4 separate regions of the Homo sapiens genome follow, and regions 1, 2 and 3 are each linked to region 4. The links are contacts of gene promoters, found by promoter capture Hi-C in blood cells and fetal thymus (Javierre and others, 2016). All regions are on one chromosome and are shown on one strand. The core of a region is centred on a gene start or on the middle of the fragment in contact, and the rest is flanking DNA. Distances in the headings are between cores, read along the strand shown.

Region 1 (6,069 bases), core at 757-3,256, 2.6 Mb before region 4:
CTTAAAGAACTAAAAGTAGAACTACCATTTCATCCAGCAATCCCATTACTGGGTATCTACCCAGAGGAAAAGAAGTCATTATACAGAAAAGATAGTTGCACACGCATGTTTATAGCAGCATAATTCGCAATTGCAAAAACGTGGAACCAACCCAAATGTCCATCAATCAATGAGTGGATAAAGAAGCTGTGAGATATATATATATATACACATATATATGTGTATATATATGTGTATATATACATATATATGTATATATATATATACACATATATATATGTGTATATATATATATGTATATATATATGGAATACTACTCAGCCATAAAAAGGAATGAATTAATGGCTTTTGCAGCGACCTGGATGAGATTGGAGACTAATATTCTAAGTGAAGTAACTCAGGAATGGAAAACCAAACATTGTATGTTCTCACTCATAAGTGGGAGCTTAGCTATGATGGATACAAAGGCATATGAATGATACAATGAACTTTGGGGTCTTGGAGGAAAAGGGTGGGAAGGGCTTGAGAGATAAAAGACTACAAATAGGGTACAGTGTATACTGCTCGAGTGATGGATGCACCAAAATCTCTCAAATCACCACTAAAGAACTTACTCATCTAACCAAACAGCACCTGTTCCCCAATAACCTATGGAAATAAAAAAAAAATTATAAAAAAATCTGTATAGGCATGTTAAAAAAAGGAAGGACAGAAATACCATTCAACTCAGCAATCCCATTACTGGGTATATACCCAAAGGAACATAAATTATTGTTTTATTAAAGACACATGCACACATATGTTAACTCCAGCACTATTTACAATAACAAAGACATGGAATCAACCTAACTACCCATTAATGATAGAATGGATAAAGAAAATGTGGTACATATACACCATGGAATACTATGCAACCATAAAAAATAATGAGATCATGTCCTTTGCAGGGACATGGATGGAGCTGGAGCCTATTATCCTTAGCAAACTAACACAAGAACAGAAAACCAAATGCTGCATGTTCTCACTTATAAGTGGGAGCTAAATGATGAGAACACATGGACACATAGTGGGGAACAACACACACTGGAGCCTACTGCAGAGTGCATGGTGTGAGAAGGGAGAGGATCAGGAAAGACAACTAGTGGGTACTAGGCTTAATACCTGGGCGATGAAATAATCTTTACAACAAGCCCCCATGACAGAAGTTAACCTATGTAACAAACCTGCACATATATCCCTGAACTTAAAAGTTAAAAAAAAAAAAAGATTCTTGTATCCCATCTCGGATCTACAGAATCACAATCTCAAAAATGAGCCGTAAGAACCTGCATTTTAACAAGCTCTACAATTATTGTGGTACATACTGATGTTTGAAAAGTACTGCCCTAGACACTCTTACCTCAGGCCGTTATAGTGAGTCCATACACTTAAAAATAAGCGTCTTTCCAAGTACTTTAAAGATTCAAAATGATAGTGGATCTGAAATGCCGCCTGAGTCCCCATGACAACGTGTACACTGTGGGGCCCAACCAATAAAGATAAGAAAAGCTTTGGCGGTCAAGCATACTTGGGAAGCTGCAGTTTCTAGAACAGTCTAGTAGAGGACAGCCTCTTCAGCAGCCTGCTAGGCATTTTTTTACTTCTTCCTTCTGTTATGCAGACAAGCTAACTGAAGATGCGGTTACTGAGATATAATTTCTCTGCTAGGTCACAAAGTCTGAAAACATGGGCCTTACGTGTGTAACTGTGTATCATCACCTGCCACCCCCAGTTTTTCCTGGCTCTACTAATCACCCAAAGTTCTGAATGCAGAAGCCCCAGGGGCCCCCGGAAGATCCTTCAAGCTGGCATCCTTGGCCTCGCTGCGGGGGCTTAGCTACCTGTGGGAACCCACGTAGCAAGGGTGACTCAAAGGGTTAACAAGCAGTGGCGCCGCAGAGTGGCGGGGAGTGCAGCCAATAGGGTGTCTAGGCAGGCAGTACGTCTGGTGTGGGCGGGAGTGAGCCAAAGTGTGCTAAAGGAAACCAACAGCGGCCTAGGGGTGAAAGGACAGCCAGGGTTAGATGTTCTGAGGAGGCGGGAGCAACCGAGAGAGCACGTGAGCATCTGTCCTTTCTACCCGTTCCTCTTTATCTTTAGTGTTCAGTAGCAGCGGGGATAGCCCGGGGCCCGGTGTATGGCCACGGAGTTACAGTGTCCGGACTCCATGCCCTGTCACAACCAGCAAGTAAACTCTGCCTCAACCCCAAGTCCCGAGCAGCTGCGACCTGGCGATCTGATCCTGGACCACGCAGGGGGAAACAGAGCCTCCAGGGCCAAGGTGATTCTCCTCACGGGGTACGCCCATTCTAGCCTGCCGGCCGAGCTGGACTCTGGGGCCTGCGGCGGCTCCAGCCTCAACTCAGAGGGCAACAGTGGTAGTGGTGACAGTAGCAGCTATGACGCACCAGCTGGCAACTCCTTCCTAGAGGACTGCGAACTCTCCCGGCAGATCGGGGCGCAGCTTAAGCTGCTGCCTATGAATGATCAGATACGGGAGCTACAGACCATCATCCGTGACAAGTAAGCCAAGAGCGGAAGGGGAAAGGGAAGTGGAGGGTCTTGCAGGCTGTGGGCGGGGATTGGAAGTAAAAGGGCTAAGAGACAGTGTTCTTGGCCTTGGCAAACTTTGGAGATTGGGGTAAGACCTTTTATTTGGTGTGTGTGTGTGTGTGTGTGTGTGTGTGTGTGTGTGTGTGTCGTGTAACTCGAACGCCAACCTTCTCTTTCCAAGTTCCGGTGTCTAACATCACTTTGGGTGGGGAGGAAGACTTTAGGTAGCCTCTGGGCTCTTTGTCTCTCCCAGGAAAGACAACTCCTTGGCCATTCCAGGCAGGTAAACTCCCCTATACTATGTGGGCAGTGCTTGTCCACATGGTAAACCTATAACCCAGAAATGGTTACTATCCAAGGTTATGCACTACCACCAATCACCTCAGGTTCATAAATAGAAATAAAGCAATTTCAAGGAAATTCTATTCAGGCCCTGACCCTTTAGTATTTGCTACTGCAAACAAGGTCTTTTAGTCTTGGAGTTCAGGTTTACTTGATCACATGAAAGCTTATCGTCCAACTCTTATCATTTTTCACTGTAAACTCACAGAACATAGTTAATGGATCAAAGGGAGCCTAAAGGAGCCTTTGGCCCTTCCTAATCCCACAAACCAATGTAGCCAGAACTTCATGTTAAAATGTAATTTTGAAATTTCTAAACCTACGTTGTAAATGGGTTTTCTCCAGGGAAATATGTACCATGATGAACTACAGCTATTTTCTTTATTGGCAGCACTTTAAATGAGCAGCATATCAAAACACCCCTTTTTTAGTGGCAGGGGTTGGGGGGACATGCCTTGATCTTTTAAAAATGGCTACTGAATGACAGATGCCACTCCCTAAACCAGACTCTAGAAACCTTGTCTTACACTATTGTAATAATACTGTTTCTCTGCTTGCAGTTTTTCCTCTCTTCCACATGCACCCATACATTACTGTACAATCAATCTTCATAACATACATCTTTGATTCAGTAATTGCCCTACTCAGCAACCTTCTTTGGCTTCTCAGAGCCTACCAAATAAAGTCCAGGATCCTTAGCTTGATTGATATTTTTGAGACAGGATCTTTCTCTGTCACCCAGGCTGGAGTGCAGTGGTGAGATCACAGCTTACTGTACCCTCATACTTCTGGGCTCAAGTAATCCTCCTGCCTTAGCCTCCTGAGTAGCTGGGACTACAGGGACATGGCACTGCCCCCCGGCTAATTTTTTATTTTTTTGTAGAGATGGAGGTCTTGCTATATTGTCCACGATGGTCTTGAACTCCTGGCCTCAAGCAATCCTCGTGCCTCGGCCTCCTAAAATGTTGGGATTACAGGTGTGAGCCACCATGCCTGGCCCCCTTAGCTTGGGATGAAGGCCCTTCTTCATAGTTCCTAGGAACAATTCTGAAACATATCTGTTTCTGCTCTCATCTGGAATTCCCTGTGTCTCCTTTATGTACGTTCAGGATACTTATTCTTCAGGGTGAAACACAGCATTAAATAATTGTCCACCTCTGCCAAGAAGCTTCCCTTTAATCATTATTCCTGGCTTATCTTCCCTGGTCTTTTTAATGCAAGATTCACCTTCTTTTTCGTATATTGTTATTTTTGTATAGATCTTATCCTGCCTATGACATCTTGAAGGCAGAAATCTTTTACATTTTTGAATGCCGGCCATGCCTTGCAAATAATAGATGCTCAATTACTAGAGTTTTTTTGTAGCTCTTAAAATTATATTTATGAAACTATACTATTTTACTCTTTTTAATGAATCAATATTGAAAACTACTGTGGTTATGTTATCTAATAGACAAAATAGTGATCCTAAAAAATAGGAGGCATAGGTTTGCTGTAGTTGTGGTAGGGTAGGGGCAGCCAAAATAAATCTTACATATACAACAAAGAAAAATAGATGATGATTCTTGTTTCTATAGAGCAGAAGTTACTACGCTTGGGTCTTCGACTCCCTCGTACCAGTAGATGGGTTCAGGGCTTTAACAAACCCTCATAAATTAACTGGGAAATTTTACTCATATGAAGATTTTTAATAGTTGTTTTTAAATAACATCTTTATTGAGATATAATTCACAGACCATACAGTTCAAGAATTTAAAGTGTATAATTCAGTGGTTTTAAGTATGTTCACAGCTGTGCATTCATCACCACAGTTTTAGAACATTTGTCATCACCCCAGCAAGAAACCTCATGCCCATTAAACAGTCACTCCCCATTTTCACCCAACCCACCCAAAGCCCTAGACAATCATTAATCTACTTTCTATTTCTAATGGTTTGCCCATTCTGCACATTACATATAAAAAATGTCTATTCTGGACATTTCATTATCATACAATATGTGGTCATTTTGTGACTCATTTCATTTAGCATGTTTTCAAGGTTCATCCGTGTGGGATCTTTCCTTTTTATGATTAAATGATACTCCATTATATGAATATACCACAATTTGTTTATCCATCAGTTGGTGAACATTTGGGTGGTTTACCACTCTTTGGCTATTATGAATAATGCTGCTATGAACATTCACATATGTGCCTTTTTTTTTAGAGGGTGAGGATTCCTTAGTTTTTTAGATTTCACAAAGTGTCATGATAATGTAAAGGTGAAGTGCCCTTGCTATAGCGCTTGGAGAGGGAATGGCATTTAGCATTCACATATGACAAAATAATACCTGATTATATGTCATTAGTCAGAAAAACCTGGGTTATGTAGTAAACCTGGGTGTAAGTGGAATCCTTTTTTTTTTTTCCTCTAAGTTTGGAAGGAGACAGCAGGATCCAGAGAAGTGATTTAGGCAATATGTTTAGCATCTCTGTGCTTCACCTTTATCATTTGTAAAATGAAGATGTTGGTAAATATCACATGGAGCCCCTGGGAGGCTAAAACAAGATACTGTTCATGAATATTCATTATGAACTGTGAAGAGCTGTTCACATTTAAGGAATTTCAAGCCTCATGTTTGGATTTGTGCATGCTTCTAATTGCATTCATAAGTGCTGTCTTCTTGATTTGTCAGAAGACAGTAAAATGAATTTAACTCTATGTGGAATTCACTTTTTTATCTTGAAAATGAATACTGGGATATTGTAGATAATTTTTATCTTGTTTTGATATAGTATGGAAAGACCCACCACAATTTTTAGTAATGTATTGCTGCTTATTTAGGCTGGGGACATTGTTTTTAGTTTTGTTTTTGTTAACCAAATTAGAGGCTTTATATTCCCTTTATCTTTAAAAAATTGTCATCCTCTCTCACAAGACCTGTTTTAGCCCCTCTAGGAGGCTGGTTTAAGGTGCCTATGGTAAGAGGAGCTATATTTACATAGGTCTAGTTATGGAAGGTGCCATCAGTTATCATACCCTGTTCTCTTTGGGGCTTATTCTCTTCTCTATTTTGATGTGACAGCATAAATGTGCACTGTGGAACTGTCCGATAATAGAAGCCACTGGAGTACATATTTTTTCTTTTATTGTT
Region 2 (6,602 bases), core at 2,779-5,278, 2.7 Mb before region 4:
AAGGTGGAGTCATTGGGAGGTGATTAGGACTTGGAGAGTAGAGCTCTCATAAACAGGATTAGTTCCCTTATAAGAGGGGCCAAAGAGCTGCCTTGTCTCTTCTACCACATGAGGACACAGCTAAAAGGCACCGCCTATGAACCTCAAGACCTCACCAGACACTAAATCTGTCAGCACCTTGAACTGTGAGAAATAAATTGCTCTTGCTTATAAGTCATGTAGTTTATGGTATTTTGTTATACCAGCCCAAACAGACTAAGATAGACTATTAGTCTAAGAAATTATTTCTCATATGCACATTAAATCCCTCTTCCTGCAAATGAAGTCCACATCTTTGTATCATAACCTAATGTTCCAGTTAAGTTTAGGCATCACTGAACTACAAATAACCCCTTCAGGTCCTTTTTTTTTTTTCTTTTTTTTGAGAGGAAGTCTCGCTCTGTCGCCCAGGCTGGAGTACAGTGGCGCGATCTCGGCTCACTGCAACCTCCGCCTCCAGGGTTCAAGCAATTCTCCTGTCTCAGTCTCCTGAGTAGCTGTAGTCACAGGTGCACGTGACCATGCCCAGCTGCTTTTTGTATTTTTAGTATGGACGGGGTTTCACCATATTGGTCAGGCTGGTCTCGAGCTCTTGACCTCAGGTGATCCACCTGCCTTGGCCTCCTAAAGTGTTAGGATTACAGGCATGAGCCACTGGGCCAGGCCGCTTCAGGTACTTTAAATGTCACTGAATCACCTCTCACCCTTTTCAGTTCCATGATCTATAATCCACTTAAAGACACCCTTATTTCTCTTGTAAGTTCTGTTTTTGTTGTTGTTGTTTGTTTGTTTGCTTGTTTTTGAGACGGAGTCTTGCTCTGTCGCCCAGGCTGGAGTGCACTGGCGCGATCTTAGCTCACTGCAAGCTCCGCCTCCCGGGTTCACGCCATTCTCCTGCCTCAGCCTCCCGAATAGCTGGGACTACAGGAGCCCGCCACCATGCCCGGCTAATTTTTTTTGTATTTTTAGTACAGACGAGGTTTCACCATGTTAGCCAGGATGAATAAGTTCTGTTTTCTATTCTTTTAGTATATTTTGGGACGACTGTTGAATAATCACTGTAGTTTCTTCATAGGCATCTTATATTGTTAAATTTAAATATGAACTAGAACCTCTAAAATATAGAATAGGAGGATTATTTCCCTAGTGTTGTTATTATATTCCCACTTCAGTTAATATGAAAGCCAGGAGTAAAGTATTTTAATTTTTATCTACTCTGCTAACTCTTAGCAGCCAATGGTGGAAGAGTAGGAAGGTGGAACTTGCTACTGGGAGAAATTAAAGCTCCCATTCTTGGTCCATGAGGTCAGACCAACAAATGAAAACAAAACAGTACCTATCCAAAAGAACTACCATATTCCACAACCCAGGTCTAGGGCATATACTGGGTGAGAAATACTTACAATGAATTCCAGTAATCACATACATGTGGGACTGTGTGTGTGTGTGTGTGCGTGTGTGTGTGTGTATATATATATATAAAATATATATGTGTGTGTGTATATACACATAAAAGTTCATGAAACAATACTTCACTTAAGATGTAAAAAGCACTGCTATTTTCTTTATATTCTACTGAATTTCATCTAAAAAAGTGCTAATCCAACCCACTAACATTATTTCATAACACTGCTCTAAGGTTCCTTTCAGCTCTAAAATATTATGCTATATACTAATGATCGTCCTAAAAGTATGAATTCAGTAATTATTTTGTAATCTTAATCACAAGTCACAAATTTGCAGGTACCTCAGGTTACCTCAGCTTCTACTTTGAAAACTTTGTAATCATTCCTTTCTCACCCTGTTTTAAAAAAAGGATGGCAAGAGTTCCATGCCTTTAAGAAACAGAAAACAAAGGTAACATCTTTCCCTTGTTTTGCACACTGAGGAAATGGTAACTAAAGGAAATGGTAGGATGTAAAGGACAGAGTGGAAGAAGGAAGTTGTGGAGATAGCGTTCATGGAAAGAGAGAAAGCTAAATTTGTATTGCCATTGCCTCCTCTGAGATTCCTAATAACTTCTCCTTTTCCCTCTTCCCCCTCATTCTTCCAGCTTAAGAAATTTTATCTTAAGATATCTAATTTTATCTAAGATAACATTTACAAATTTTATCTTAACTTCATCTGCCTTATTGGAGAACTACAGAACAAAAACCATTCCCAAGAGATCATGTGTTAGAAACTTTCAACCATAAAATACTTTAAAAACCTTAATGAAATCATCTAGATTCGCTTCGTTAGCCTAATCTGCTATTTCCTATCTTGAATGACTCACTACAGTCTAAACTACGTGCAGTTCTAGAAAAGGTCCATGTTCTCTCTGACTTGTGGGCCTTTGCACATGCGATTCCTTCTTTAACTGGCTAACTTCTAATTTTTCAGCTCTTGCCTTAGATATCAGTTACTTAAGGCAATCTTCACTACCTTACAATTAGACTTAATACCCCTCACATATACTGTCCCATACCTTGTACCTTTCCCATTATTACACAGCTCCACTATATTTTAATTGCCGATTAATTTACATATTTCCCACTAGATTTTAAGCTCTTTAAAGACAGGACTTATATTTTGTTTGCTCCTGTAGAGGTGTTCAATAATTACTGAATGAATTATAAATGTCATTCCATCAGCCTTCCACATGCTTAGTGTCATTCCCTATTCTCCCTGTTCAGAACATTCTCCCCAGTTCTATCACCAGCATGAAATACTCTTTATAACCTGGTCCTTAATTATCACTATTTCCTCTGGATGCCTATAGCCTTTATTGTACATACTATTCATTTGCTAATTAACCCACCACTGTGTTTTTCAGTTATTTTTGTAATGCATAGATCCAATCTCCTTAACTAAACTGTACAATCCTTGAAGGCATAACTGTATGTCTCTCTTAGTACCCTATCATCTAGCACAGGGCTATGTACAAGGTAGACGTTAAATATTTGTAGATGAAGAATCAAAATTTAAGAGGTTGTTTCTCATACAAAACTGACAATATTTTAAAGTGATAGTGATAAATACGTGGTGGCAATTAAACCTCTTGTCAATACACAGAAAATAAAAAGATATACTTTAGTACAGTTAAGTACAAATAATTTTTTAAAAAACCGTTCCTGAGTGAGAGGTAATAATGGACTCAAATTTTAGGAGGCACTACAACCATAGCTACATTCATAAGTTAAGGATAAGTAGCCTATGGCTTCCAAAATGACCTGTGCACAGAGAACATCACTGTATTTTTCAGATCTAGGACAGTCATATTTATACAAGAATTTAGGGCGGTCTATGTTTTGGAAAGATAGTTACGGTTTTGGCCTATCAAGAAGCACGCCTGTCAGCAAGGGAGTTAACTGGCGCCACCTGTTTATAGATAGCTTGCTGTCATTACAGTGCTCTCCGAATTGCTAATTCCAACTGAGTAAAATCTGAACCACAGATAAACTGTCCCAAATTCCATTACTAATTGGGGAAAATAATCCAGTCTTCCTCGTCTTTAGAAAGGCAAGCAGGCTGGGAATGGTGTCTACCCCAACTCTTAATATGAGAGAAAAACTATGACTCCGAGAGCCTCCAGCGCTCCAGGTGTCCTCTGCCCAGAACCTCCTGCCCCGTTTCCCTTTGCTGAACTCAAAGGTTTTCTTCTTCGCCCTTTCCTCAAATTACTGACGTTAATTTCCTTCACTTACTGCTGCTCCCAGTTAGCCATGACTTTCTTCTTGGTGCTCTCTCTGCCCCGAGGTCAGGAGGGCAACCTTTTCCCTACAGGTCCCCTTGCCCTTCACCCTATTCTTCCATGTCAGTGGCATCTCACCTGGTAGGCTCGAGCGGTTCCCAAGGCGCCGAGTTGATGTGGCCTCCACTGCGGACCTGAGCCGCTAACAGAGACTAAAGGCCGGATCAGAATCGCGGAGTGCCGGCGCTTTTCGAAAGCAGCCGCCGCGGCCGCCCAGCGCCAAGAATGCATCGCGAGCAGCGCCATCTTGAGCGAGGAAAGAGGAACCGAGAGAAGAGGATTATGGGACACTGGCGGACTGAATTCGGCTACCTTAATTGTCTCTCCTCTTCTTGTTTTCCCAGGGCCCCAGACCGGAAATGGATTCTGTTTGAAGATTCGGATGCATTCGCACAGCCTCTTTTATTTGTTTTTCCTTAGGGCCGAGCTTTGATTGTTTTCCTTACACAACCGGGAATATTGGAGTAACACTGTATTTTTCTCTTTTCCTGGAGTTGCCAGATGAAATACAGGATGCCTACCTAGTTAAGTTTCAATTTTACATAAACAACGAATCATCTCTTCGTGCGTGTGTCCCAAATATTGTATCTGCTAAATCTGTCAACCCCATCTTGTCTCTCATAATACTCTCTTACCTCCTCCAACTCAATGTCACGCTCCCCTCTCTCCATTTTCCCTATGCATATTCTTATCTTCACTCCCTTCTGAATTAAGGAAAGATTAAACTACAGACGTTAATTTCCCCTGGGAGGAGGCTTCAGCTGTAAGATTTACTGCTTTTCTGTCCTGTAAGGACTTTAACTTTGCTGATTGTTCTCTGTTGCGCAAACCTTGGGGCAGTTTTCCTTTGGTCTGTTGCTCGTGGGACAGTCTCACACACACACACACACACACACACACAGAGAGACTACAGACATCTTTACTAATTTTGTCACTCTTTCTAGCTCTTCGCTTTGGTTTTTGCAGCGTCCCTAATTCTTGAAAAATCGCTTAGGTTGGCTGAAGGGTGGTAAAGTGAAATGTATGGAGAGAAGACCATGTTTAAAGACAGGCTTATATTCTTTTGTCACCACTATTATCAAACAAAATGTCAAAATATGTTTACAGTTATCTAGGAAACTGCATTTCCAGTTGTAAATGTTACCTGAAACCCCGGAGACAATAATGCAGTTGCAATTTTATATTCACTGCTGCATTCTCCAACTTTTCACACAAAAGAGACAAATAATTATGGACTTCTTATGAAGAGGTACTTTGGACTAGTAAGTCTGATAAAGAAAAACAGAAATCTGTAGCCCATGCAGTTAGCTTTTTTGTTCTGGGATTCATTCAAGGGGATGCTTGAGCTAGTTATTTAAAGAAAAATAGAATTCAAGTTGAAGAGGTTGACTGGAATTACACGTAAAGAAGATGACATGTTAAAAGCAAGAAGGCATAAGAAAATATTTTCAGGTTCAGGAGTCTATGGAGTTTGGGAAAGTAGTAGGAGGTTAACCTGAGTGAACAGAGACCTGATGGTAAAGGGCCTTCTATTTCATTCTAAGAAGTTAATACTTTATCCTATAACCAGTGAAGAGTTTTAATCAGGAGAGTAACATGATCAGATTTATATGTCCATTAAGCTACTCTGGCTTAAGTGAGAAGGTTGGATTGGACGGAGTTCATATTGAAGTCATGAAGTTAATGCAATAGTTCAGTCATAAAATAAAGGCCTCAACCTAGCAGTAGCAGTGGCAGTAGATCGATTGCAGGGCAATTAGGAGATGGAATTGGCAAGACTTAGTGACTAATTGGATGTTTCTAGCTTATTATTGTATTGTTGACAGTAGATCAGTAATGGCTTCATATTAATGACTATATTGTCATCAACAAATATTTATTCAGCATCTATTCTGTGTTAGACAGCTACAGTATACATTAGAGAAACTCTAGACTCTACTAATGATTTCTCTTAGGGCTGAATATTGCCACTGAATCTTACCACCCAGTTGTAAAGTCTTTGAATGGAGCCAAATTATTTTTTTCCAAAAGTAGTGCTCATTGTAAGCCAACTGTTTTGATCAAAAAGTGTGAATAACATTGAAATACCCAAGTTGTTACTCTATGATGAGCTAAAGTGAGGCAAATATTTATTTGCCAAATAAGCCGAAGAAAATTTCCAGGGCACCCAGAAATAGAACGTGAGGCATAATAAGAGTTGCACACTGCTGGGGAAGAGCAGCAACAAAAAGGCCAACTCAGCCTGTAATAACTTGACACATAACTGTCTGACATAAATTAAAGAGACAGAGGTATACACAATAAAAGCTGCTATAAATAGCTGCTACAACCACAGATCACATGATAGCACTTTATGTATGCAATAATTAAATGTGTATAGTATTTTGTAACTTACAATCCGCTTTGTCATACCTTATTTCATTTAGTCCTCACATCGACCATGGAAGATAGGTATTATTTATTAATATGCCCATATTTATGAGGAAACTGAGGCTAAGAAAAGTTGTGACTAGGTCAGAGGCCACAGAGCTAATGGGATGGAGACCAAACCTAGGTTTTATGACTCCAAACATAGTGCTCTTTTCACTTAATAACACCTGAAATGTGGAAGAAACACTTGAGCAATTTAAGAAGGCCACAGTGGTCTTCTGTTTCTAAAAAATACCAGAACTTATTCTCACCTCAGGACCTTTCCACTTGCTTTCCCCTCTACCAGGAATATCTTTCCTGTAGATTTTTAAATGACTTTTTCTTATCTTTCAGGTCTCAAAACAAATGTCACCTGCTTAGAGAAGCTTTCCAAGAGAACCTTATCTGAAGAGGCCACCCC
Region 3 (5,676 bases), core at 3,094-5,593, 2.9 Mb after region 4:
ATCCTAAGATTAATGATAAATCTCCAAAAGGATTTTAAATCATTGAAAGTACGTTCCTTAGAGCCCATCTGTGGAAAAAAAAATGCCAAGGATCAATCTAGACAAATCGCTAAAGCCAATATATTTCAGAGAGCGCGTGGTGGCTCAAGCAAGTCAGTAGTCAGGAGTAGTCAGGAATACCGATTTCCAGATATTGACCTCTCTCTGTCATAATACCTATCAGTTAGCATTATATGCACAATACACTGCACTGGGGTTGAGCAGAGCATGCTTTTTGATATCCCATGATGCATCCTGTTCTTCCTAACTATGGCTATGTCCACATGGCAGTTAATAAATCAAACATGCTTAAACTGCTTCCACACTTAGAGATGCAATAACTATGCTACCAGCACTCAAAGATCATTCTGCTATTCTAATTGACAATTTAAGCTATTATTAGTAATTGGAGAACAACAGCTGGTTAAGAAAAGAATACAGGTATGTCTGGAATTTAAATACAGTGTTTTAAAGTACTTGGTGAGGATCAAATGAGATAATGTGAAAACACTTTTAAACTTGAATGTGTTATATGCAGATGCAACTTCTTATAACAACATATAATCATAGATGTATGTATATTTTTTAAGGACAATAACAAACAATCTTTATAAAAGTTTTTCATAAAAAACATAAAATTACTTCTAGTATTTTGCATATAAAATGAGGGTAATACAATCTATGTCATTCCAAATGTAAGCGCTAACTGGTGCTTTCAGTTTTAGAGATGAAAATGCGAAATAAATGTAAAACTATATACCACACCTAAACACATTTATAACTTTGGTTCAGTCTTTTTTTTTTTTTTTGAGACAGAGTCTCAGTCACCCAGGCTGAAGTGCAGTGGTGCGATTCCAGCTCACTGCAACCTCTGCTTCCAGGGCTCAAGCAATTCTCATGCCTCAGCCTCCTGAGTAGCTGGAATTACAGGCATGAGCTACCACACCCGGCTAATGTTTGTATTTTTAGTAGAAAAGGGCTTTTGCCATGTTGGCCAGGCTGGTCTTGAACTCCTGACCTCAAGTGATCCGCCTGCCTCAGTCTCTCAAAGTGCTGGGATTACAGGCATGAGCCACCACACCAGGCCCTGGTTCAGTCTTATGATACGAGACTCCTAAAAATGATTTAAAAATCTTAAAATGTGGTTTTTAAAAAGTTTCCAAATCACCATTTCAATATATAAAACTTATAGATTAACAAGAACTGTTCATTTAAACACACACAACCTTGATTACTCTGTTGTCCCCAGTAAAGCTCCAAGGAGGAAGCAATAAATTAGCCAACAACTCAATAGGGTCACCACAAATGAAAGGACATCTGTATTATTTAAATTATCTACCTTAAGATGAATTGCAAGAAGCAAATCTTATTCTATTATGTGGTCAGTAACAGCCAACTAGGAAGCAGAAAATAAAGTGCCCAGATGAAAATTCAGAAACAATCACAACTTCAAAATTTTCCCTCTATCATTACTTAAAATTCTGGAAAATTTAGAGTGTTATATTTTAAATGCCATATTCAAAAATCTTACAGTTCAACATAAACTGACCAAAATGCTTCATCATGTACAGATTCTTTTTTAAATGACATTTCAGATCAGGATACGTCAATACTTAACTGCAAGCAGCTTTAATAAAAAAGCACCTTCCCTTGTGTTCAAAATTACAAGTAAAACACTAAACACTAAATCAGATGACCGTTTCAGAAAACAGAAGGCAAGGATTTCTAGAATATGTAATTTAGTATAAACACTGAATCAGATGATTGTTTCAGAAAACAGAAGGTAAGGATTTCATTACTACTACTAACAGTAGTAATGAAATGTTGAAGAAATTCAATTTATCATTACCTTAATATTATTCTGATAAATTAAGCATTAATGACAATCAGTTCAAATGAAAGTATACATATGAACAAAAAGGCAGGATTTTTGTCTCATATATGCAGTATACGTGGCCATGCAACCCCTATTTACTATGTTGATATCCTAGTTAACACTTCATTGTACATTTGTACTCTTTCCTTTTCATACCCCAATACACCTTAAGTTTGTAATGCTGCTATATAATGTAATATTCCAGGTAAATCAAGATGATACTATTAATACTTTGCCCTAAATTTCAATCCAAAACATGCAGCTAAATCAAAGACCACACTTTATAAATCTATCATTCCAATAACAATTTAAAAAATACCTACCCCAGGCCGGGCGCGGTGGCTCATGCCTGTAATCCCAGCACTTTGGGAGGCTGAGGTTTACGAATCACGAGGTCAAGAAATCGAGACCATCCTGGCCAACATGGCGAAACCCCGTCTCTACTAAAAAATACAAAAATTAGCTGGGCGTGGTGGCGCGTGCCTGTAGTCCCAGCTACTTGGGAGGCTGAAGCAGGAGAATCGCTTGAACCTGGGAGGCGGAGGTTGCAGTGAGCCGAGATCCCGCCACTGCACTCCAGCCTGGCAATAGAGCGAGACTCCCTCTCAAAAAAAAGAAAAAAACAAAAACACCTACCCCAAGAAAAAGTATCCCATCTCTTCTACAATGCAGCCACTCAAAATCAGGTCATATGTGAAATAATTTTAATCAAAAATATTACTGACAAACTTAGCAATCAAACCAACACTGCACATTCACTTCTCAGCCACTACACTTCTGTTCAAATTATCACTCAACCCTGCCCATCTTCTCTTACAAAGAAGTCCATAGGTAGAGAACAGACATGTAAAAGAAAACCATGGTATCTAAACTATAATGTTCAAACAACAGAACAAACTCTGTGTACGTAAAAAAAATAGAAAATATAAAAACAGAAAAGAATATTTAAAAGATACGTTAAAATTGAGTATATGTAAGAATTAACAATTTTATTTAATTCCTTAAAGGTTAAGCCTCACTAGTAATGAAAAAAAAAGAGCTACTTAAGTCAACCAGGAGCTATTGCCATCTATTAAATATTAAAGAAACTGAATGATTTAAAGCTATTAAAAAACTCACTCTAAATACCTAGATGATGACATTATAAATTAGTACAATCTTCTGGAGAGCAAACAATATATGACAAGAGCTATAAAACTCATGAGACCCTTTGACCTGGTAACTCCACTTTAGGGAATAAAGTCCAGGAAAATAACTGGGGGCAGAAGGGATAGGGGAGAAAGTAAAAAGCAGAAAAAGACCACCTAACTATGCAAAGTTATTAGTAAAAATCTGGAAGTAGCTCAAATGCTCAACTGGAAGCTTGGTTCAAATCATATCGTACCTTAAATACAACTGAATTTTTTCTTACCATTAAAATAATGATGACTATTCAAATACACAAGTACATTTTTAAATGTTAAGAAAAATATGAAGCATAAAATGGACACTGATCACAATTATGTAAAAATGTCTTTACAATATGAGGAAAAGTCTAGTAAACTGGGTTGTTGGGGTTTTTTTGGTGAGGAGACTATTTTTTAATTACTTTGATTTTCATTTCCTTTTTATCACTGTCAAGTTAGTTTCAAAAAAGCTTTTTCCTTTTAATCTCCTTTGCCACTTGCTTAAAATAACACATATAGGCTGTGAGAAGGACAAATGTAAAGGAAAACATTTTCAATACACCTCAGTATTAAAACTATATATAAAAACCTGTATCAGTCATTAAGTGTTAAAACATATTAGTAGGCACTGTTGTTTTTGCCTCTTTTAGGGGGAGGGAAAGACTTAAGTCCAACAGAAAGACTGACTACAAATTAACCTGGCAGTACATGAAGTTTTTCAAAACTAATTTTTCTCCATCTGAGAAATTGTTACTATTAATAATACAGATGGTCGAGTTTACCCTTATCACAATTATACCATTTTCTGTGATTTGCAAAATATAAGAAAACTATACAGTCGGTAGACTTGATAATAATAATGTGGCCTCACTGTTGTAAGATAACACAAACAAAAATAACAAAATGAACATTGAAGCAATTTAAATATAGTCTTATTGCAAGCAAATTTTAAATCATTTATATTTAGAGTCTATCATACACCGCCAACTTTCTTTAACTTTGTCCGATTTTCCTCCACTTGGATCTTACTTGAAGGAAAGATAGCTGAATTTAGATTTTAGTAACATCATTCCTTTCTCCTTTCACTACCCTCCAATGCACTGTGGCAGCAGCTAACACAAGGGAACCTCCCCCGCAAAATAAAAAGGATCACCTGTTTTTGTGTGTCAATGCTGAACACAAGGTACATTTATACTATGAATTATATTTGCAGGAGAAACAACATAGACCAATGCCTTTGGTCCTTCACTAAAGTATATTCCATTTTTAAATATGTCCATTGTTGTCTCCTTGTAAACCCAAAATCGTGTTTCACCAATTCTCAAAAAGTGATAACTCAGTTTCTATTTAGTGAAAACGGGTCTATGCAAATGCGACTTAACTGATAATTGAATGAGCTTATAAAATCGGAGATACGTAACGATTATGCTTTTACTCAGTAGACCATTACCTAACCGGCAAAATTTGAAATTGGCTTGACGCTCCTTATTATTTTTAATTATGTCGTTTTTCCTAATCCCTGGTCCGTCAATTCCCCTCCAGAGCCCCTTCCTCCCACGCCTCCCCCCTGCCCCCCCGCCCCCCCCAAAAAAGACCAAGCCTGGCCTTAGTTCCCGTATTTCAGGCCAGGACCAACCAGAAACCAGTTTTCTTCCACTAATCCGGAACTCCGGGCTGTTACCAACGCTGTCATTGGCCAGCGTCAGACCTTAGTACGTGCCCCAAGATAACCCCTTGGTTTCTCTCCCTTTTCCGCCTACAATGGGCCTTCCCCAATGTTTGTAACATATTCATAATCCACAACACGGCACCTCTGATAATCAACTCACATTCTTCAAAGTTTTCGGGTGGAAACAAGCAGGGCCAAGGGGAGGGCAAGGTACCCTTTTTCCGACTAGCAGGGATGGGGGAAGGGGCAGTCGTTCTTTGGCTCTGCACCGAGCTCTAGAACCTCGTCGGCTGAGAGGTGGGGGGCGGGTTGGGGGTACAAGGTGGGGAGGGAGTGGTGAAAGAGTTAGGTTAAGTTGAAATGAAAACTTTACTCACCAGATCCTCGAAGCTTCTTCGGTGCTCTTTCCCCTCCCAATCTAAGCGGCGCGGAATCAGCTGGGGGCCGGACGAAAAGAAAGGGGGAAGCGGAGGCAAATGATGAAGGAAAAGCCTCCGCTCCCCATCAACTGGACCCAACCTGTGTCCCAGTCCTCAACACTTTACCGTCTTTATTTCTCTCGGCCTGATAGCTATTGGCTCAGAGCTAGACAAGTATATGGGGGGGGGGGGGAAGGGGGGTCGAGAAGGAAATCCTGAAAAACTGCCTCCCACAAGCATAAAGCGGGGACGAGTTAAGACCCCAGCGTTGTCTGCCCCTTTTGAGGGAAGAAGCCAATTCACCCCGGTGACAACAGCTACGGGTACCCAGATCGAAGCCTCTATCCCAGCCCGTCTTCCGCCCCTGACTTGCCCTCCCCTTCCTCCAGTCTCACCTCAACCCTCCCCACCCTTCCCGAAGGGGCTCCGTACCTGATGCTCCTCGAGCTCCTGCACTAGCACCTGAGCAAAAGGGAAACACAGATATGAGGAGCAGCTCGGGCCATC
Region 4 (6,311 bases), core at 875-3,374:
GAATTTTACTATGTGTATGTTTTAAAAATAAAAATTTTAAAGTTTAAAAGGGATATCTTACCTATCATATTGGCAAAAATCCAAAAGCTTGACACTACATGCTATTAGCAAGGCTGTGGGGAGTCAGGCACCCTTTATATTAATACGTTGCTGGTGGGAAGGCAAAACGTTACAACATCTATAATTTGGCAATATCTAAAAAAACTACACATATATTTATCCTTTAATCCAGCAATCCCACTTCTAGTAACCTACCTTGGAGAGAGACATCCAGCAATATGAAAATATGTGTGCACAAAGTTATTCATTTCAGCATTATTGAAATTGAAATATTCTTGAAACTACCTAAATATTCCAACATAGGAGATTGACTGAATATACTATAGCACATATACACCACAGATTTTGCAGCTGTAAAAAAGGAATGAGGAAGACTTATGTAAAATGATAATGGATTTTTATGCTACATTTGTATAAAATAGAGAAATAAGAAAACATACAGGTATTTGCCTATTTTTGCAAAAGGAAACACACAAGATAAACCAGAAAGTAATGAAATCGGTTACCTATAGGAATTGGTGGAAATGGAATGCAACAGTTAGGGGAGGGAATGACACTTCTCTAAGTACACTAGTCTGTTTAGTTTTGACTTTTGGAATAATGTTAATATTTTCAATAGTCAAAATGTATAATCAAAGCATTTAGTTTTACACGATGAAAAAGTCTTAGAGATGAATAATGGTGATAGTTGCACAACAATGTGAATGCCATTAATGCCACTGAACTGTATGTATTTTATTTTTTTTGTTTTGGGACAGGTCTCAGGCTAGAGTGCAGTGGTGCGATCTTGGCTCACTGTAACCTCCGCCTCCCCGGTTCAAGCAAGTCTCATGCCTCAGCCTCCCGAGTAGCTGGGATTAGAAGCATGTGCCACCATGCCCAGCTAATTTTTTGTATATTAGTAGAGACGGGGTTTTGCCGTGTTGCCATTTCTTTTCTTTCTTTTTTTTCTTTTCTTTTCTTTTCTTTTTTTTTTTTGAGACGGAGTCTTGCTCTGTCACCAGGCTGGAGTGCAGTGGTGGTATCTTGGCTCACTGCAACCTCCGACTCCCTGGTTCAAGCGATTCTGCCGCCTCAGTCTACAGAGTAGCTGGGATTACAGGCACATGCCACCACGCCCAGCTAATTGTTGGTATTTTTAGTAGAGATGGGGTTTCACCATGTTGGCCAGGATGGTCTCGATCTCCTGACCTCGTGATCCGCCCACCTCGGCCTCCCAAAGTGCTGGGATTACAGGCGTGAGCCACCGCGCCAGGCCTAACAGCTTTCTTTTCTTTCTTTCTTTTTGAGACGTAGTCTCGCTCTGTCGCCCAGGCTGGAGTCCAGTGGCACGTTCTCGGCTCACTGCAACCTCCGCCTCCCGGGTTCAAGTGATTATTCTGCCTCAGCCTCCTGAGTAGCTGGGATGACAGGCGCGCGCCACCACGCCGGCTAATTTTTGTATTTTTAGTAGAGACGGGGTTTCACCATCTTGGCCAGGCTGGTCTCGAACTCCGACCTCGTGATCCGCCCACCTTGGCCTCTCAAAGTGCTGGGATTACAGGCGTGAGCCACCGCGCCCGGCCAATAGCTTTCCAAAGTTATTTTATCACGTATTTATCTACATATTACAGAAGTTTTTACTGTTCTTGCAACTTTTCTCTAAACTTGACGTTATTTGAAAACTAAAAGCTAAGCCAATTAGTATAGTAGTAATAGCAGACAAAAAAAATGAGAGAAGTAAAGGAAGTTTTGGGGGAACAGAAAGAAGAAAGAGCTAGTGTGGAGATACTAAACCGAAGCTTGTGGAACTTGAACGCCATTTTGAAGCTAGTTCCTTAGACGATTCGGTCGAAGATCTGTCTCTCGGCTGCCCTCTATAGAGCTCTAAACCTGGCTTCAAGGAGTTCTTTCATTCTTCATTAGATACCACCCACCATACGTCATTTTATAAAGCCGGAAACTACATTTCCCAAAAGGCCTTTATTTTTCCTCGCGGGAAAAGGGATTGCAATTACTATAGGTTTTACAGGTATCGCGAGATTTCGTCAAATCTCATTACGGATCCCGGCTGAAAGCCATTTTGTTTTTCAGCTCACTTCAAGGGTACCTGAAGCGAATTGGCACCAAAGCAGCAGCTGTATTGCCGCAGTTCTAGCTTCACCTTCACGATGTTTCCCTTGGTCAAAAGCGCACTAAATCGTCTCCAAGGTGAGCAAAAATTATGACAAATCATTTACAACAACCTTATATCAATGTGTCCTCGCGGCCTCTCGTGTGCTTTCCTTTTACGAACATCTCGGCCTTCTAATCTTGAATGCTGTCTGTCTCCCATCTCGTCCCAAGTCATTGGGATGATGTCCTTAGCATTGGCTTTATCACCCAGTATTTCTGTTTCGGTTTCCAGCTCTCTTTCTGTTATCGGAGTGATAGTCTAGCCCTGCTTTTTAATTCTTCAGTAACCTTTGATTTCAGGGAAGGACATTCTTGGTAGACACCTCGTTCCTTAAGTGATGTCCTACATTTTAGCTTTGGGGATATGTTTACTCCTAACCCTGTATAGAAAAATATCTTCTCCAATTCCTATTACTGTAATAGACGGAAACTGTAAATCTAGCTCTTCACCTGGTTTAATTGCAGGGAAACAACCCAAATGGTATCGATGCAGCTTTGAAGTTATTTGTGGATTAACAATGTTAGCTGGCCAGGCGCGGTGGCTCACACTTGTAATCCCAGCACTTTGGGAGGCCAAGGCGGGCGGATCCCCTGAGGTCAGGAGTTCGAGACCAGCCTGGCCAACATAGTGAAACGCCGTCCCTACTAAAAATACAAAAATTAGCCGGGCGTGGTGGTGGGCGCCTGTAATCCCAGCTACTTGGGAGGCTGAGGCAAGAGAATCGCTTGTACCCGGGAGGCGGAGGTTGCAGTGAGCCAAGACTGCTACTGCACTCCAGCCTGGGCAACAAGAGCGGGACTCCGTCTCGAAAACAAAAACAAAACAATGTTAGCTGTCCTGAAGGCAATCGTGGTCATTTTTTTCTTATCCAAAGGTTGGGCAGGTACAGGGAGTTTTGAGACCAGCATTATGTAGAGAAAATGCAATAGATTGAGGAGAACAAATTAATTTTCATACTTGATTTGCACCGAAGGTGACCTTGAGTAACGTGGGCAGTTGTTACACAATGAAGGTGACCCGTAATTACTATTTAGTTTGTTTAGCCATCTTTTGATTTTCACTTAATAGAATCATTGGAGGATATTATTAGATTGTGTCCTAAACTCTTAAGCAACTTTGAAAATAACCACAAAATATTAGCTGGACTATTTTCATATTCCCAAAGTAGCATTTATTATCTCTTTTACTTTGGGCATATGATTTAGCCTCTCTCAACCTCAGTTTCCTTCTTTGTAAAATAAGTAATTTGTAAATAATGCCTACTTCATGGGGTTGTTGAGGATTATATGAGATCACCAATGTGTGGTAATTAAACAGTTGTCACAGAGGAGAGGTCTGATGAAATCCACCAGAGTTACATGAGTGTGTTGAAGTTATGAGATGTTGCAGAATTTTTTGGTAGTCTTAATTTCTTTGCTCTTTGAGCAAATAGGGCCACCTTGTACCTCAGGAAAGGTTTTTTGTTTTTTTTTCAGCGTGGAATTCACATGCCCACTTTTTATCTTTTCTGGAGCAGAATATATTATGAAATATTTGTAAATTTGCCTATCCCGGTGTGACTAAAAGATGAAAAGGGAAAGCTATGTAAGACAGTTAGAAGATCTGATAATGGTCTAATAACTATCATGAAGTAACCCATTGTACCATGTAGAAATATTCATTGCTAGTGAATGGGCAACATTGCAGTTTCTTTTTTTTTTTTTTGAGACAAAGTTTCGCTCTTGTTGCCCAGGCTGGAGTGCAGTGGCTCAATCTTGGTTCACTGCAATCTCCGTCTCCTAGGTTCAAGTGATTCTCCTGCCTCAGGCTCCCTAGCTTTTCATTATATATGTAAGTACCTTTGGAGGCTCTTTAAAACGATAAGAACCTGCCCCTTAAATTGGACAGGAAGAAAAAAAAAAACAGCTAGAAACAAGCTTTTTCCAGTCTCGGCTGTTTCCCAAGCCCTCCTTTTTAGTTCTTCCAGGGGCCGTTTGAAAACTTTTGTTCTTCTCTTTCTACTGGTATAATACTAACAGCAAACTTTATCATTCTGCTCAAAAACTAAGTCCTTAGCTAATTCTGCTTCCTTGTACGATACTGATTTTTATCTACATGTGTAATCCTCTAGACTGGAAGTTACTTGAGGACAGGATCTCTGTCTTATACTTTTTTATATACCCCATTTCTCATTTTTTATTTTTAGGGACAGAGAATTGCTCTGTTACCCAGGCTGGAGTGTAGTGGTGTGATCATAGCTCACTGCATCCTCTAACTCCTGGACTCAAGTGATCGTCCGGCCACAGCCTCCTGAGTAGCTGGGACTACAGGTGTGCATGCACCACCATGCCCGGCTAATTTTTAATTTTCAATTTTTTTGTAGAGACAGGGTCTCACTATGTTTCACAGACTGGTCTGAAACTCCTGGCCTCAAGCGATCCTCCTACCTTGGCCTCCGAAAGTATTGGGATTACAGATGTGAGCCACTGTGCCTGGCCCATTAATTTTTTAAAAATCAAGATTACTCTAGTTGTGGCGAGTTTTTTTGTTACTGTAGTAATTTTACAGTCATAAGCATTTAGTGTGCTTTAATTTGAAGTTCATTTGAGTTCATTTGCCCTTGTATGTTGTAAGTTGTTGGGCTCTATTGAGTAAACTTTAATGAAAATTTAAGTCATAAGTATTCAAATTAATCAATGGGAGCCAAAATTTCAGGGGTTATGCAAATACCACTTTGTAGAGAATGTTACTGACATCATTCATTCTTTGCTTTTTTCCCCCAACACTATTATGAAAACTCTCAGACATACTGAAGAGTTGGAAGAATCGTATGAACACCCATATACCCACCACAAAGATTCTACAGTTAACATTTTGCTATTTGTTTTATCATGTATTTGTCCATCTGTCAATTCATCTTATTTTTGTTGCATTTCAAAGTACACTGCTTTAATAGCTACAATATGTTTTAACATTTTATTGAACTACATAATACTGTAAAATTAACTTCCTTGGCTTTCCTGATTGGCAGTATCAATCACATATGTTTTCTTTACCTGACAATTGATAATATGCTTCTGTATTCTTTTTTCGTTTTCCTGTAAGTTCGAAGCATTCAGCAAACAATGGCAAGGCAGAGCCACCAGAAACGTACACCTGATTTTCATGACAAATACGGTAATGCTGTATTAGCTAGTGGAGCCACTTTCTGTATTGTTACATGGACATATGTAAGTACTATTGATTAATAATTTCTGTTTCAGATGTTTTTCATTCTCAGTCTATGCATTCAAAGTGTCTTAACATAGTAGTGTACATATCTAGTTAGGAGGGACTTGAGAGATTGTGTAATCTAATTACCCACACAGTGCAGGGGATTTTTTCCCCCCAGCATTCATCCATCTTCTGTTCTTAACATTCCCAGTAATAAATTGCTTACTGGATCACAAGGCAGCCCTTTCCATCTTGTGTAGCTGTTTTTTTTGTTTTTGTTTTTTTTTTTTTTTAAGAAGAAGTCTTGCTGTGTCCCCCAGGCTGGAGTGCAGTGGTGCGATCTTGGCTCACTGCAACCTCTGCCTCCTGGGTTCAAGCACTTCTTCTGCCTCAGGCTCCCAAGTAGCTGGGACCACAGGTGTGTGCCACCAGGCCTGGCTATTTTTTTTTTTTTTTTTTTTTGAGACGGAGTCTTGCTCTGTTGCCCAGGCTGGAGTGCAGTGGCGCGATCTCGGCTCACTGCAACCTCTGCCTCCTGGGTTCAAGTGATTCTCCTGTCTCAGCCTCCCAGGTAGCGGGATTACAGGCGCCCTCCAGTACGCCTGGCAGATTTTTGTATTTTTAGTAGAGACGGGGTTTCACCATGTTAGTTAGGCTGGTCTTGAACTCCTGACCTCAGGTGATCCGCCCGCCTTGGTTTCCCAAAGTGCTAGGATTACAGGTGTGAGCCACTGTGCCCAGCCTTGTGTAGCTGTTAAAAGGATCATATGGTGAGTTAAAATCTGCCTTTTTCCTATGCTACCCATTGTTCATTGAAGCACAGAAATTCTGACCCACTTCCATATAACAGCCATCAGATAATAGAAAATTGCTATCATATCTCCTCAATTTTCTTTTTCAAATT

Evidence for each region. The method cuts DNA at HindIII sites, captures the fragments that hold promoters and counts their contacts. A CHiCAGO score of 5 or more calls a contact.
Region 1: the fragment with the promoter of UPRT here is called in contact with the fragment with the promoter of COX7B in region 4 in 3 of 17 cell types (fetal thymus, non-activated CD4 T cells and total CD4 T cells); the score reaches 12.0 in fetal thymus.
Region 2: the fragment with the promoter of ABCB7 here is called in contact with the fragment with the promoter of COX7B in region 4 in 1 of 17 cell types (fetal thymus); the score reaches 5.9 in fetal thymus.
Region 3: a contact is called between a fragment that was not itself captured here and the fragment with the promoter of COX7B in region 4, in 1 of 17 cell types (fetal thymus). The highest score is 6.4, in fetal thymus.

The regions. Positions count from the first base shown.
Region 1 is chrX:75,272,079-75,278,147 of GRCh38, forward strand. UPRT (uracil phosphoribosyltransferase homolog) reads left to right here and starts at 2,007. Exons shown (of 7, transcript NM_145052.4): 1 at 2,007-2,562. The coding sequence starts at 2,177. It overlaps LOC124905200 (a long non-coding RNA gene), which reads right to left and starts at 1,958. Exons shown (of 4, transcript XR_007068269.1): 1 at 1,400-1,958. RefSeq lists enhancers at 1,898-1,947, 1,968-2,017, 2,178-2,387. The HindIII fragment of the contact is 1,552 bases long and covers 1,547-3,098 here.
Region 2 is chrX:75,152,255-75,158,856 of GRCh38, forward strand. ABCB7 (ATP binding cassette subfamily B member 7) reads right to left here and starts at 4,029. Exons shown (of 16, transcript NM_001271696.3): 1 at 3,851-4,029. The coding sequence starts at 4,018. It also overlaps a transcript of UPRT not described here. RefSeq lists an enhancer at 3,710-4,139. The HindIII fragment of the contact is 6,846 bases long and covers 1-6,565 here.
Region 3 is chrX:80,803,412-80,809,087 of GRCh38, forward strand. BRWD3 (bromodomain and WD repeat domain containing 3) reads right to left here. Exons shown (of 41, transcript NM_153252.5): 3 at 5,602-5,631; 4 at 5,128-5,187. LOC124905202 (a long non-coding RNA gene) reads left to right here and starts at 5,397. Exons shown (of 2, transcript XR_007068278.1): 1 at 5,397-5,676. The HindIII fragment of the contact is 1,589 bases long and covers 3,550-5,138 here.
Region 4 is chrX:77,897,344-77,903,654 of GRCh38, forward strand. COX7B (cytochrome c oxidase subunit 7B) reads left to right here and starts at 2,125. Exons shown (of 3, transcript NM_001866.3): 1 at 2,125-2,250; 2 at 5,300-5,424. The coding sequence starts at 2,211. RefSeq lists an enhancer at 2,079-2,328. The HindIII fragment of the contact is 2,290 bases long and covers 1,840-4,129 here.